2 separate regions of the Homo sapiens genome follow, and region 2 is linked to region 1. Evidence: promoter capture Hi-C in human tissues and cell types (Jung and others, 2019). All regions are on one chromosome and are shown on one strand. Each heading gives the region's core, a stretch centred on a gene start or on the middle of the fragment in contact. The rest is flanking DNA. Distances are from core to core; before and after follow the strand shown. Region 1 holds the start of ADAMTS9 (ADAM metallopeptidase with thrombospondin type 1 motif 9). Region 2 overlaps ADAMTS9 (ADAM metallopeptidase with thrombospondin type 1 motif 9).

The links. Contacts are between HindIII fragments. The study calls those that stand out against the background at their distance.
Region 2: a fragment that was not itself captured here is called in contact with the fragment with the promoter of ADAMTS9 in region 1 in 1 of the 25 tissues and cell types used here (aorta).

Annotation. Positions count from the first base shown.
Region 1 is chr3:64,685,696-64,692,394 of GRCh38, forward strand. ADAMTS9 (ADAM metallopeptidase with thrombospondin type 1 motif 9) reads right to left here and starts at 2,305. Exons shown (of 40, transcript NM_182920.2): 1 at 1,848-2,305; 2 at 873-1,273. The coding sequence starts at 1,962. All of the region lies in intron 1 of ADAMTS9-AS2 (ADAMTS9 antisense RNA 2), which reads left to right. The HindIII fragment of the contact is 6,670 bases long and covers 1-5,587 here.
Region 2 is chr3:64,551,632-64,558,330 of GRCh38, forward strand. All of the region lies in intron 30 of ADAMTS9 (ADAM metallopeptidase with thrombospondin type 1 motif 9), which reads right to left. Among named protein-coding and RNA genes, the nearest start is that of ADAMTS9-AS1, 6.4 kb to the right of the region's middle. The HindIII fragment of the contact is 7,412 bases long and covers 1-5,963 here.

The DNA.
Region 1 (6,699 bases), core at 1,055-3,554:
AGAAGGCGGCCTCCCCGCCCTGCCTCAGTCCCTAGGGAAACGTGCGCCGCAGGCTCCCTCTCTCCACTCCCTGGAACCCGTGAGTAGTAGAAACCCCAGAGGAACCGAAATCACGTCCGGACAGCCTCTCCAGGCTGTCTCCCACTATCCCGTTTCTCCCGGCCACCCCGCCAGTAGGGTGCAGAGTTGGACTGCGCTGCACCCCCACTCTCGGTTCCACCCCAATTCAAAGCGTCCGGGGTAGGCTCCGCCTTCTCCCCCGCCCCCAGAGCCCTCGGCCCACCCTTCCGTTCCTGGGACGGGACCTGCTCCCTGTCAATCCAGTTCAGCCTCAGGGTTCCTGGCGCGTGAATAAAGGCCCTGAGAGAAAGCGGGGACTCTAGATTACGCACCGCCCTCCACAACACACACTGAAGGAACTCCCAGTGCCTTGGGCAGGGGATCCTCAGCCCCACATCCCCGATGCAAGGCGCACCAATAAGGAGTCTGGTCCGCCCTGCGCTCAGCGGCTCCGCTCCCGGGTGGCCAAGTTTGCTGCAGGGAACCGCAACTCCAGTAACTTTCTCCGAGTTTGGAAACTGACTTCCAGGCCGCCTCGCAGCGTTGGGCAACGCGCCGCTGAACCGAGTCCAAACTCCAGAAAGCTCTGAAACATCCAGAAGCCCCTGGGGGCGGGTGTGTGCGCTCCACGCCAGTGTACTCGCACGCACAGAGCTAGCTACCCAAACCATACGAGTTTCTAGCTGATATTTAACGCCGGAGAGGAGCGGAGCCTCGCCACAGTGAGGGTCTCTAGGCTTAGAGGACAATTAAGTCTTCTAGAAGCGGGCGAGGAGGCGGAAGGGGAGAGGAGGTGGCGCGCGCCCACTTACCATTCCTGAGCAGAGGCTGATGACGGCCGTGTGCTCGGAGTTGGTATTGACATAGCCTTTGTAGAAACAGTGCTTGAGTTCCGCTTCCTCTTCGGAATAAAACTTGGTCTGATTCACCCCGGGCGTCCCGAGGAGGGTGACAGTGAACAGTGGAGCGATAAATCCGGCATTGGCGGTGAGATTAAATAGAAACTGCTGGCCGAAGGCAGAGAGGCGGTAATGCGCCTGGGAGGAGGTAGAGGAGGAAGAGGAGGAGGCGAAGGCAGGCCAGGGGTCAGTGGCAGAGTTAATGCTCCGTCGCGTTCTTTTGAAGTGGACGTTCGTGGGAAAGGGTTCTCCGAGAGCGTTCACTCGGATGGGAGACACGATTTCGTATTCGCTCAGGGTCTCTAATAATTTCACTGCGGAGAGAAGCAGAGGTATATGAACCAATAATTCATTTTTCCTTAAGCTTTAATTTAAAACGAAGGTGGGGACTTTGTTCTGACCTTATTTTCCAGCCCATTCGAGTCAATCCCTTCACCCTTAATCAGTGGACAAATATTTGCTGAGCACCTACTATGTGCCAGTAACAGGACCTGTGCTAGGTGCTGAGGATACACTATTCCGAGCCAGACAATTAACAAGTCAAAATATATATGATTTCAGATATTGATAAATAACCTGAATAAAATAAAACATGACGCTATCTGGTGCCCCCAATTACTAAGTTACTTTAGTTTGCGGCGTGGGAGTGGGGATGGGGATATATCTGGCAACAGCAAGGTAGGGGGGGGTTGCCTAAATTCGTTTCCATAGTGTCCCTCCCTAGCAATTGGTTGGGGATGACCCAAAGAAGGGAGAGGCTGCAAAGCGGGAGATAATTCTTTCTAGGAAAAGGAGAGAAGCCTCCGCTGCGGGGTGCCCCTGCCCAGGAGCGAGGACCGGGAGGCGGCGTCGGGGCCGGCGGGGTCCCGGGGGCCGGAGCCTGGTTACCTTGCCTCGGGTGCAGCCTGTCCTTGCGCACGGCCGCCGCGGCGTCTGGGCTCCCCATCTCGGCCAGGTCCCGCACCAGGAGCGTTAGCAGTGTGGCCCAGGATACAAACTGCATGGTGCTTCCCACCCCTCCCTCCGCTGCCCCCACCCCCCTCCCTCCTGCCCTCCTTGGCTGCGGCGGCGACGCGAGGCAGCGGCCGTGGAGAGCGCGCGGAGCCCGGCGCCCGCCGCCAACTTTTGACTTTAGGAGTCGCTGAGGTCTCGCTGCGAGGGTCCCGTCTGCGCTCGGCTGAGCAACGCCGCCGCCTGCCGAGAGCTGAGCCGCTCGGGCCGCAGGAGGAGCCGGAGGAGCAGGAGGAGGAGGAGGACTGGGGCTCGGCTGCTTGGCCGCATAATGCCCAGCGAGCGGGCAGGAGAAGGCGAGGAACTTGCGCTCCGAGGCGCGCCGGGCGCCCTGTGCTGGCCGGGATAGCTGAGCGGCTTCTTGAATGGGGGGCTGGGGGGGCGGAGGCGGGGGGGCCGCGGGTCCACAGCCTCTCAAATGCCCCCGGTGCACGCCTCTAAGAGGAGGAGAGGGGAGGAGAAAGCGAGACGAACGGGGACCGCCTCCTTCCAGACCATGTCCCCTCCTCGGCCGGCCCGTGCGGGACTCGCAGCCGGAGGCCCTGCCGGCTGCAAGAGGCGGAGGCCAGAGGCGTCACCAGCGCCGGGGCAGCTGTTCCTGGTCCCCGCCACCTCGCTGAAGTGGGGTTTTCTGAGATTCCCTGCCCCGGGGAGGGAAAGCAGGGAAAGTTCTCTCCCTTTCCTGGCGCGCGTGCAGCCACTTCCCCTCTCGTCTTTTTCCTCTCCTCTCCTCTCTCTCCTCCCTTCCGAGTCTCTTTTTCCTCCTCCCCCTTGTCTCTCTGCTGCTGTGCCTCTCGGACTCTGTCCCTTCTCCCCATTTTCCCCTGTGATGTCTGTCTTCTCCCCGCCCCACCGTGTCCCTGTCTGTTTCTCACATTTCTCCTTTTCCTTTCCTTTCTCTTCCGTCCCCATCTCTTGCCACCAGTCCCCATCTTTTGGTTTCTTACAAGTGAAAGTGGCCCAGCGCCGGAGCGCCTTCCCTTCCTACACTTTTTCATTCGGGAAGAGATTTGGCACCTGAGCTCCGCTCTCGATTTAATCACCCCAAGTCAAGAGTTTTAGAAATGGGGTTCTTAATCCTGCAGGTCGGAGTGTGTTTCTAATACGTGGTCTCTTGAAAATTTCGCAAAATATTTAAGCTGTGCTTTCCACCAACCTCTGTCACCATTCATGGAGGGTCCATAGCATTCTGTAGGTCCCCTGCCCCAAAAAAGGTTAAGAACAAATTTTGGCAGCAAGAAGGGGCGGGGACTCTGGCGCCCCTCACTACCAGGGGGTTTAGAGATGGGAGGGGAAGGGGGGATGGAGTGTAAAGTTGTAGATCCCTGTGGGAGGCACCAGTCCCTGGAGGGATTTCTCAATCACTTCCGCTTGCTTTCAGCCTGAGAGATGCTTGGAAAGACTGGGAAAGACTGAAAGCAGGCGCTTCAAGCTACACCTTCGTGTGTGTGTGTGTGTGTGTGTGTGTGTGTGTGTGTGTGAATTGTTCAATCTTGGGTGGTTCAGTGGCGCCTTTTCTTTAACCAGCCCTCAGGAAGATAGAATTTCAAGATAATTTCAAGAGGAAAGACATGACAATATCGTTAAAAATATATAAATATATGACTAATAAATATATATTTGCCCAAGTATCCTAGAACGGGGGTTGAGGTTCTGTTGCGTGGTAGGTTAGCACTCAGGACTAGAAATACCAAAGATTGCCAACACCAGGAACCAAATCGCAATATGCTAGCAATGTCAACTATTCTTGAGATACTAATACATATATTTCTTCTGGTGAAGGGTAAAAATGACTTGGCAAGACGAATTTGCTAAATAATTGTTAACCCAAATTGATAATGTTACCATCGTCTTATTACTGGAATTTCATAATGGATATGTAAAATGTAAGGATGGAAAAATAACATCTGTATTGTGCACAATTAGAGATTTTTAGAGAATGGCATTTAAACCTTGAACCTCCAAATTAATTCACTAAAATACGTTTCTTCTAATACACAATCTTTCTTTTTATTATAACAACATTCCCCACAATCACAGTGTCTGGGAGTTGCTGAAAATTTAGTAAGGAACAGAAAAATATCAAGAAATCAATCTATTGGCTGATTCCTGTGGAAAATATTCCAGTACTTCCATTGTAAAATTACTCAAAAATATAGCACTTTCCAGTATTTCCCATTAAATCTTTTTTTCTCTTTCAGTTCAAATCCTTCCTGACAAAGAGAAGTTAACTAATGGTATAGAAATTACGATATGTAGGGACAGAAGCCTCCTTTGTGTACTCTCTCTCCTTTGCTTTCTTTCTAGGACTTTGCTTGAAGAATGAACTTTGTCTACAGTTTTAAAAAATTGATCCACAAGAGCTGATAGGCCAGAAAGATACAAAATATCTCTTGGTGAACTCCTGAGGTGACCAAGAACCTAGGTTTATGAATTTCTCATCCTTAGTGAGTCTACCCATCTTTTCTTCAGTGTATTAGCTGGCTTCTGCATTTACATCTGTAAAAAAGTCTTAAAGAATCTTAGGAAAATGTCTTTTAAATCGTGAGACATGAAAAAGACAGTTGAGCTAACTAAGCAAGTCAGGCAAAAATCTTTTGTCTGAATAATTACTCTTTGTCTAAATAAGTACTCTTATTCAGTACTTACCATGGGGTAACATATAGCATTTAATTTAATTCTCAAAACAGCTCTTTCAGGAAGTCAGTGTCAGTAATCTCATTTTACCAATAAGGATACCGAGATCTGAATAAGTGAAATAATTTGACCCCCCTCAATCCAGTAAGTGAGAGACACGATTCAAACTCCGTTTCAGTCGTTCAATCCAAGTTCATAACTATTATCATATGTCATGAATAACTGATTAATCAGAAGCACTGCTAGATTTTTGGAGGGTTGCTTTGTGGGAAAATGGCTAAAATCATTCAGAGAATTGCCTCAAGCTTTTATTGCATGTATAACTTTTCTTTAGCTCTCTCTTATTCTTCTCATGCAAAGTATTTAATGAAAATCATGTCAGCGATTTCATTGATATTTCACAGCTTTTCCCTCAGCAGTTAGAAGAGATCTGGCACATAGTAGGTAGTCAATAAGTATTTATTAAGACTAGGCATGGTGGCTCACACCTGTAATCCTAGCACTTTGGAAGGTTGAGGTGGGAGGATTGCATGAGGTCAGTTCAGCGGTTCAAGACCAGCCTTGGCAACATAGCAACCCCTTGTCTCTACAAAAAAAGAGAAAAGAAATAATAAAATGAAATAAAATAAATTGGCCCCTCATAAAAATTTGCTCTGAAAGAAGCAAACCTTTTCAAGGTCACCTGGAGTTAAAGGAGGGACAGTTTTTAGCCCGTTTTCTTCGTGGGACTTTACTGGAATTGAATGGTATTGTAGGTTAAGTGGAAGTATTCATTGGCTGATTCGTCATGAAAATTAGATCCCAGAGGAGTGATGAATGATATTAGTCACTAGGGAGAGATAATCCGGCCAATGGAAATGACAGTGATGACATCACAAATGACTCTGTTTGCCTAATGCCACTGGAAACAGCAGGAAGGAGACTTGAAGCAAAGCCATCAATTTCCACAGAAAGGGGAAACCCACACCCAAATGGTAGGGAGGGCCCAGGAGCCAGAATTCAAGTGAATAGTTTCCTGAGTGGTCAGCAGCGTCAGGTGATTTGGGGAACAGATAAGCCCCTGGTACTTGGTAGCACTGCATTCTGGTCAGTGAATCACCAAGCTGGGACCTGGTGCTGGCTGAGCTCTGTGACCTTGGGCCTAAAGAATCTTAGGGAGATGTGTTTTACATGACAAGAAATGAAAAGGACAATTGTGCTAACTAAATAATTTGGGTTCCAATCTTTTGTCTGAATAATAATAATGAGAATCTTTTCTTGAGTACTTACTATGTACCAGACCATGTGTACTATGTCCTCTCTGATCCGGTTTCCTATTTGCAGACTGCAGCAGGTAGAAACTGTGTTGTCTTTGTTTGCCCTGTGAGTGAATGACCTTAGTGTATTTTTTAAAAGTCTTCTAACTACTGACTTCAAGCAACAGGTACTGTAGAGAAAGTAGTTTGTATCATTATTGATAATAACAGTAGATTCCCTTCATTGAGTTCTTTGTGCTAATTATTCAATCCTCATAGCTATCCTGCCATCTGGGTTTTACCCTCCTCATTTTACTTACAATGAAAATAAGACCCAGCAAAATTAAAGTGACTTTGCCTGGCATTATGGAGTCAGAATGTGCAGTTGGGATTTACACTGGGGTCCAGTTACCTCCAAAGCTTGTGATCTCCATTAATCAGAGCAGCCTAGTAACATAAAGACTGTCGCCTAATTGATCTTCATCATTCAGCATTTATATTTGGCCTGATGAATACCATCTGTGAGAACATCATTTTTTCTTCTAATGCTAAATCTAAAGTTCTAACTAGCTTTTCTTGACCCTACTCTGAAAGTCATAGTTCCACTTTGGAGGTGGCTCTGTATAGCTCATGACCAGCTTATAGCAGTTCTACGAAGGTGATCCGATCTTCAGCCTGTTCACTCAGCAGGAGCTCCTTGTTGACTTGTCATTCTAGAAGACCATACTCACATTATTGCTCAGGCTTTAAAACTCCATATGCATCCCACTAATCTTTCCTTTGACTGTATTCTTAGGGCTTCAAATCCTTTTTCTCCTCCCTCTACTATCCTTGAAATGAGAGCTTCACACCTGGGG
Region 2 (6,699 bases), core at 1,008-3,507, 130 kb before region 1:
CTATTTACTTCAAACACCTACTCACAAGTGACTTGATATTGACACTTATGGCCAAATGTTTACCAAGCTGGTGTCTAAATACCTCCAGGATCAGGGACATCAGTACCTTCCCAGATAGCCATCTCATTTCATAACATGGAACCAAACAAATCTCTTTGTATGTTCCAGGCCCCTGTCCTAGTTTTCCATTCCAGGAAAGCATAAAGGAAAGTTTCAGCTCTCACAAGTAATCTCCTTCAGCTATTTGAAGAGGGCTTTCCTTTAGCCCCAGGTGCCTTTTCTTCTCCAGGGGAACTGCTCTCATGCCACATCATTCTGCAAATATTCACTAAGTTCCTACTAGGTGTCAGGCCCTGTGACGGGTCCTGGGTGAACAAGAGTGCACACAAATGGCACATTCTCTGTTTTCAGAGAGGAGCTTATATGTTAGTAGCAAAGGCAGACAACAAAGAAGATAGCTAGGTAGTGAGATTTAACAATTACTGTAATTCCGTTTTCCAGATGAAGAAAATGGGACTTTGAGAGCCTAAGTTACTTGCCCCAGGTCACACATCTCTTTGTGAGGTAGACGGGACAGCTATGTTTATTCCCATAAGCCAAGGGATGATTACAGAGCAAGTGGTATGTTTCATTCTAGGATAATCTCTATGTCCACAGATTCTTATTTGTTTTGCTTTAGCCAACACCAAACCCCACCCCTGAAGTTTATCCTTAGTGCCCTGTGTTGCTAAAGGTCACTGAAAGCCTATTGTATCTAAAGCCTCTGTGTCACCCAACATTTCAAGACTCATTGGGAAGCCCCAGTGAGCTAAGTGAAACCTGTACCAAGGACTGCTGCAGTTTCTTAATTTAGGCCAGGGATTGAATACCCTGTTGGCAACGGGCTTATCTAACAACTGTGATTTTTGTTGTGTGGTCAGAATGTTGTCTTTTCTTTTCTTTCCTTTTTTTTTTTTTTTGAGACAAAGTCTCCCTCTGTTGCTCATGTTGGAGTGCAGTGATGTGATCACAGTTTGCTATAGCCTCGACTTCCCTCCTACATTTTAGTCCCAAGTAGCTGGGACTACAGGCATGAGCCACCACGCTCAGCTTATTTTTAAATTTTTTGTAGAGATGAGTCTCACTACGTTGCCCAGTTTGGTCTTGAACTCCTGGGTTTAAGGGATCCTCCTGCCTTGGCCTCCCAAAGTTCTGGGATTACAGGCGTCAGCCATCATGCCCAGCTAGCACACTGTCTTTTAAAATGTCTAATTTTAGTCTCTTTACGGAGAACTACAGACCCCACCTCTCTTTTTCATCTAATGGGCAGCCTTTCCTTTTATCCCTGCCTTGCCTCAAAGGCATTTATGTTTGGAACTCAGCTTCACTCAGAAATGTCTTCTATGATATGCCCTATGTCTTTTTTTTTTTGGTGATAAAATACACAAAATATAAAATTCACCATTTTAACTATCACAAGTATAGAATTCAGTGGCCTTTAGGACATTTGCAATATTATGCAACCATCACCCCATCTAGTTCCAGAATATTTCATCACTGCAAAAGGAAGCCTTGTACCCGTTCACCAGTCCCTCCCCATTCCTTCCTTCCTGTAGCCCCTAGCAAACACCAGTCTGCTTTCTGTCTCTGCAGATTTGCCTATTCTGGGTATTTCACATATATGGAATCATCCAATATGTGGCCTTTATTACCTGACTTCTCTCCCTTAATGTTTTCGAGGTTCTTCCATATTGCAGCATGTATCAATATTTCACTCCTTTTTAAGGCTGAATAAGATTCTGTTGTACGGATATACCACATTTTGTTTATCCATTCCTCAGTTGATGGACATATGGGTTGTTTCTCATTTGGCTATTGTAAATAGTGCTGCTATGAACATTCATGTACAAATTTAAACACCTATTTTCCATTCTTTTGGGTATATATACCTGGGAGTGGAATTGCTGGGTCATATAGTATGCCCCGTGCCTTTCGTGAGCTACCCTGTTCCTTTAGGAAGGAGAAGGGATATGCTGGCATTTCCTGGTAGCCCCTTGTCACTTGCAAACTAAACTTAAAATTTCTGCTGCTTGGGAGTAAACCTCAATATCTAGAATATGGAGTCAGTCCTCATTTTTCTGGAGCATAAACATAACTTGAAACCACTGTGAGGTGAGCATGGAGGAGCAGAATCATTTCAAATTAGTGCAGGAGGCCGGCTGAGCCCAGTTCCCTAGCTCATCCCTAGCTCAGTGGTTTTGGGGTTCTCTATTCCCCTAGAAAAAAAGTGTTTTTTTCATCATTAAAAAGGTGAGATAGAGGGCCACCGAATGTTAAAAAAGAAAAGAAAAGAAAAATTTAATCTGTGATGTGTAGATATATGCAAATACTTAACCACCCATAGAAAAAGTAATTCCTTAGAAAATTAGGACTTAGGTGACTCTGAGAAGATCCTAATTATTGCGCAGCTAAACCTGGACTAAACCTTCCAGTATCCTCTCTTGTTTTCACTAATCCACAAGGCTTTAATCTGCATCAATAAGTAACAGTTCAGAGCAGAAATACAATGAATCCTAAATACTTTATGCTTGTTAAGCGTTTCTCTCTCAGTCTTAAAGAATGGTTAACTACTGTAAAGACTATTTTGCCAGCGGTGGAAAGGGGAGCTGGAAAAATTTACCTTGAATATAACTTTTACAAAATTAAAAATTAAACTAAGTAAATAAGTGACTTGCCCAGTGTTTCCTAAATTAGTCAACAGCAGCTCTGAAAATCACATGGCAAGGGTTTTCTCCTGGAATCTTAAATCCTAACTAGGGTATGGGGGCTGGGTAATCAGAAAACAAATCGAGTCCATGCTATCAGGTTTCATCAGCTTTTTGTAATATGGCTTCCCCCTCAACCCTCTACGATTTATGACTCTTTCCCCTGTCCTGGAATATGATCTAGAATGTTCTGAAAAACAGTTGGAAAGTTCAATTAGCCTCATTTTAATTTCCAAAAGGTTTTCTCTAATTTCAGTATGGCTTTTAGAAAAATCTCTAACACAAGTAACACCACCAGCCTCCTTGCATTTCATCACACACTATAATTCAGAAAGAAAATAATCACAGTGCTGGACTAAATCGGGCAGCTCGCCCATTGTTCTGCAAGCTACATGTGCCTTTAAATATGCTGAAATTAACAGGGGGAAAAGAACTTCTCCGAATTTGAGGGTGAGGAAGACCTAAAGTAAACCCTGAAGGTGGTATTTTATTCAGCCAGGTAGGTTGGCCACAGAGTGATGGTCTGAAAAGGATCATTTAATGCAATGGGTAGAAATTTTCTTTGCTTAAAGATTATAATCAAGTTGCTTTACACTTTCAAATATATCTTTTGGTGCAATTCCCTAACCATGGGGGGAAGAAAACCGCTTGAGAGTCACAGGCTCTACCTTTTAAGGTTGTTGATTTTCTCCATGGATGAAAGACCTTGTCTTCTCTAGTGCTGGGTTACCATTGTTGCACAGTGTATGGACGGCAACTCACAGAACCACAGGGTTCCTGGGTTTTTATGTCATGAGAAGCAGCAATGACAAATCAGTTTATCTAGCGTTGCTTTAAATGGCAACAACGAAAAAAGCAGTCCTTACTTTAAAGCTCATTTTAAAGTCAGGTATACAGAATTTAGACATTTTTGCTCCCAAATAGTATATATTTGTTAGGAGGTGCGGTGGGGAGAAGGAGGCAGAAATAATACTATGGAGACACTTTGTAACTTTAAAGTCATTCATTCATTCAATCAATCAGTATTTTACAATGAGCCAAGGTCTATGCTGGGGCCCCGGGAGGCAGCCTCCATGGCTTCGTACCCTGTCTCTCTCCCTGTTAGGACACCCAGGGTGGCAGCTATTCCCAACTTGGGTTCCCATGTGTTAGCTCAGCTGGCTGACTGGTGACCCCTGGGGTTTAACACCTAGGGCTACCTGTGCAGTTGTGTAAGCAGTTGTGTTTGTAACAGAGCATGTAATTGAGTAAGAAGCCACCAGGGAGAGAAGAGGAAACACAACGGGGCAATTCCCATGATGCTGCAAAGGTGGGCCCAGGTAGCAGCAGATGAGCAGGAGAATGATGGAGGACATCAGTTCACCAGGCAAGGAGGGGAAGAGGACATTCTTAGGAGGGGCTCAGCATGCACGGTGGCTGGAGGTGAGAAATGGCATGGGTGGAGAAGCGGGGGAGCAGAATGACCACAGCATTTTGGGGTTTTCAGAGCAGATTATTTGTGGTTTGGGATTTTTAGAGCATCCCTAATGCCTAATGCCTGGAACTTCACAAGGGATTGATAAACGCTGGTTGAATAAATTAATAAAATGAGCAATAAAGAGTTCGTATCTGGCTCTGTGCGCACATCAAAACCTGGTCATTCCCTACTGTTAACTTCAGGAAAATCTTTTAAATCAACTGACCAAGGACCTGCTGCTCATTTCTAACTTTTCTGTGTTAAGGAGATGCACTTGGAAATCATTCTACAGCTGATCTTAATAAAAGCCCTCAGACTCCAAGTATGTATCAGAGTGGCCCAAGTCCCCATACCGCACCAAACAGCAGCGAGGTGAGCAGTTCTGCAACAGTCAGACATATCTGAGCACAGCTTGTCCATGGCATTGTGAGAAGAAAATAAAACAGCTGTTCTTACAGGAAAAACAGAGTTTGACTGTGCTTTTATTTTTTTATTTTTAATGTTTTTGAGACAGGGTCTTGCTCTGTTGCCCAGGCCGTAGTGCAGTGGCCTGATGATAGCTCACTGCAGCATTGACCTCCTGAGCTTAAGCAATCCTCTCACTTCAGCCTCCCAGGTAGCTGGAACTACAGGTCCATGCCACCATACTCGGCTAATTTTTTCTATCTTTTGTAGAGATGGAGTCTCACTATGTTGCCTAGGCTGGTCTCAAACTCTGGGGCTCAATGATCCTCCCTCCTTGGCCTCCCAAAGTGCTGGGATTATAGGCGTGAGCCACTGTGTCCAGCCTGCTTGACTGTTCTAAAAGTCATTTTAGAATGCCTTTATTCTATAGAGTGAAAGATGAAAGTCCATCAATTAGCAGGCACTGTTCTATGTTTTTTTCCTTCCTTCCTTCCTTCCTTCCTTCCTTCCTTCCTTCCTCCCTCCCTTTCTTCCTTCCTCCTTCCTTCCTTTTTTGCTTCCATCTTTCCCTCCTTCCTTTCTCCCTCCTTTCCTTTCTTCTTTCCTTCCACCCATCCATTATTTTGTTTCCTTCATTCATTCACAGATTCATTCATTTAACAGGTATCTTTGATGTTGTAGGTACCATGTTAAATGATAGAGAAGATTCTGGTGAACAAGCTTCCTGACCTTAAATAACTGATAACATAGATGAGAAAAACAGGCAATGAGAATTCCAGGTGTTAACTGCCAGAGTACAGTAATCTGCGTGTGTTGTGAGAGCTGAGTGGAGGAGCATCTGACTCAGATTTAGTGGGGTGGTGTGATTGGCAAAGGCTTCTGAGAGGAAGTGACATCTAGGTTGAGGCCTGAAGGATAAGAAAGGGTGACTGAGGTGAAGGTCAGAGGAAGGTGGTCTTATGATGAAGAGGTACTACAAGAGAAGAGTGTATTCCAGGTAAAGGGGGAAAAGAACACATGCAGGACCTGTGAGATCTATTCCTCAATGCTGCAGATGCATGGCCCCATACGATCACAATTCAAATTTGACCAGAAGGACCTCTGCTGCTCTAAGTGAATTTATATGTCAGATTGTGATACTATTAACAAGTAAATCCTTTGTGATAATAATTCTCAAAAGAATTAAAAAGTCTTTTTTAACTTTTTTCTTCCAAACAGCCTCATGAGCATTATAATTCTAAAGTGGGTAAAACTGACCACTGCGAGGACAAATTACTCACCTGAAGCTGGCGGGTGATATTAGAAGCCCAACATTATAAGGTGCAGGCTGAGTCAAACTGCTGTCATCACCAGAAGCCTCCATCGGAAGGCCACCGTACTAAAAAGAAGTCTACTTTGGGATGGCCTAAAATGTGCTAGTCACCATGTCGAATCATGTCATCTCACCAAATCCTCACTGTGACCCTTGAGCAAAGTCTGCCATAGAATTCCCATTTGGCAGATGAGCTAAGTGAAGTCTAGAAATTCAGAGTCAACTTTTCAGAGCCACACACTGAACAGAATTTTGCCTACAACATGTTGTTTCTAGGATGTAAACAAAATGAGATGTGGATGTGTGGATAGAGCACTTTTCTCTTGTCCAATTATTCTACCCTATATCTGAAAGTCTGGGCTCTACTCTCATGGTATCAAGAAGGCCCCTTTCCCCTGAACAACCAATGGGCTTCACAATGAACAGGAAGTCCACTGAGGGGCTCCAACATCATCAAGACTCGCCTGGTGACATGGCTTAAAGTCTGATAGCTAACTAGATCAAGAATCTCCTTTTTAGAAGGGGTAGGTGTTACAACCCAGTAAAGGGAATACACTTTGATAGCAACTCTCCAGTAAGAGGCTTGGCAAATCATTGAGAGGAAAATAAAATAATTCACTTTAGGTGTATTTGGCATCGGATTAGTGAAGATAATGATTCAGAGTGTAGGTGCCAGCGTGCAAGCTTCCGGGCTTCAAATTCCAGCCATATTATTTACTAAATGCATGATCATTGATAAATTAACCTACCTAAGCCGCAAGTTGCCCCTATTAAATGAGGAT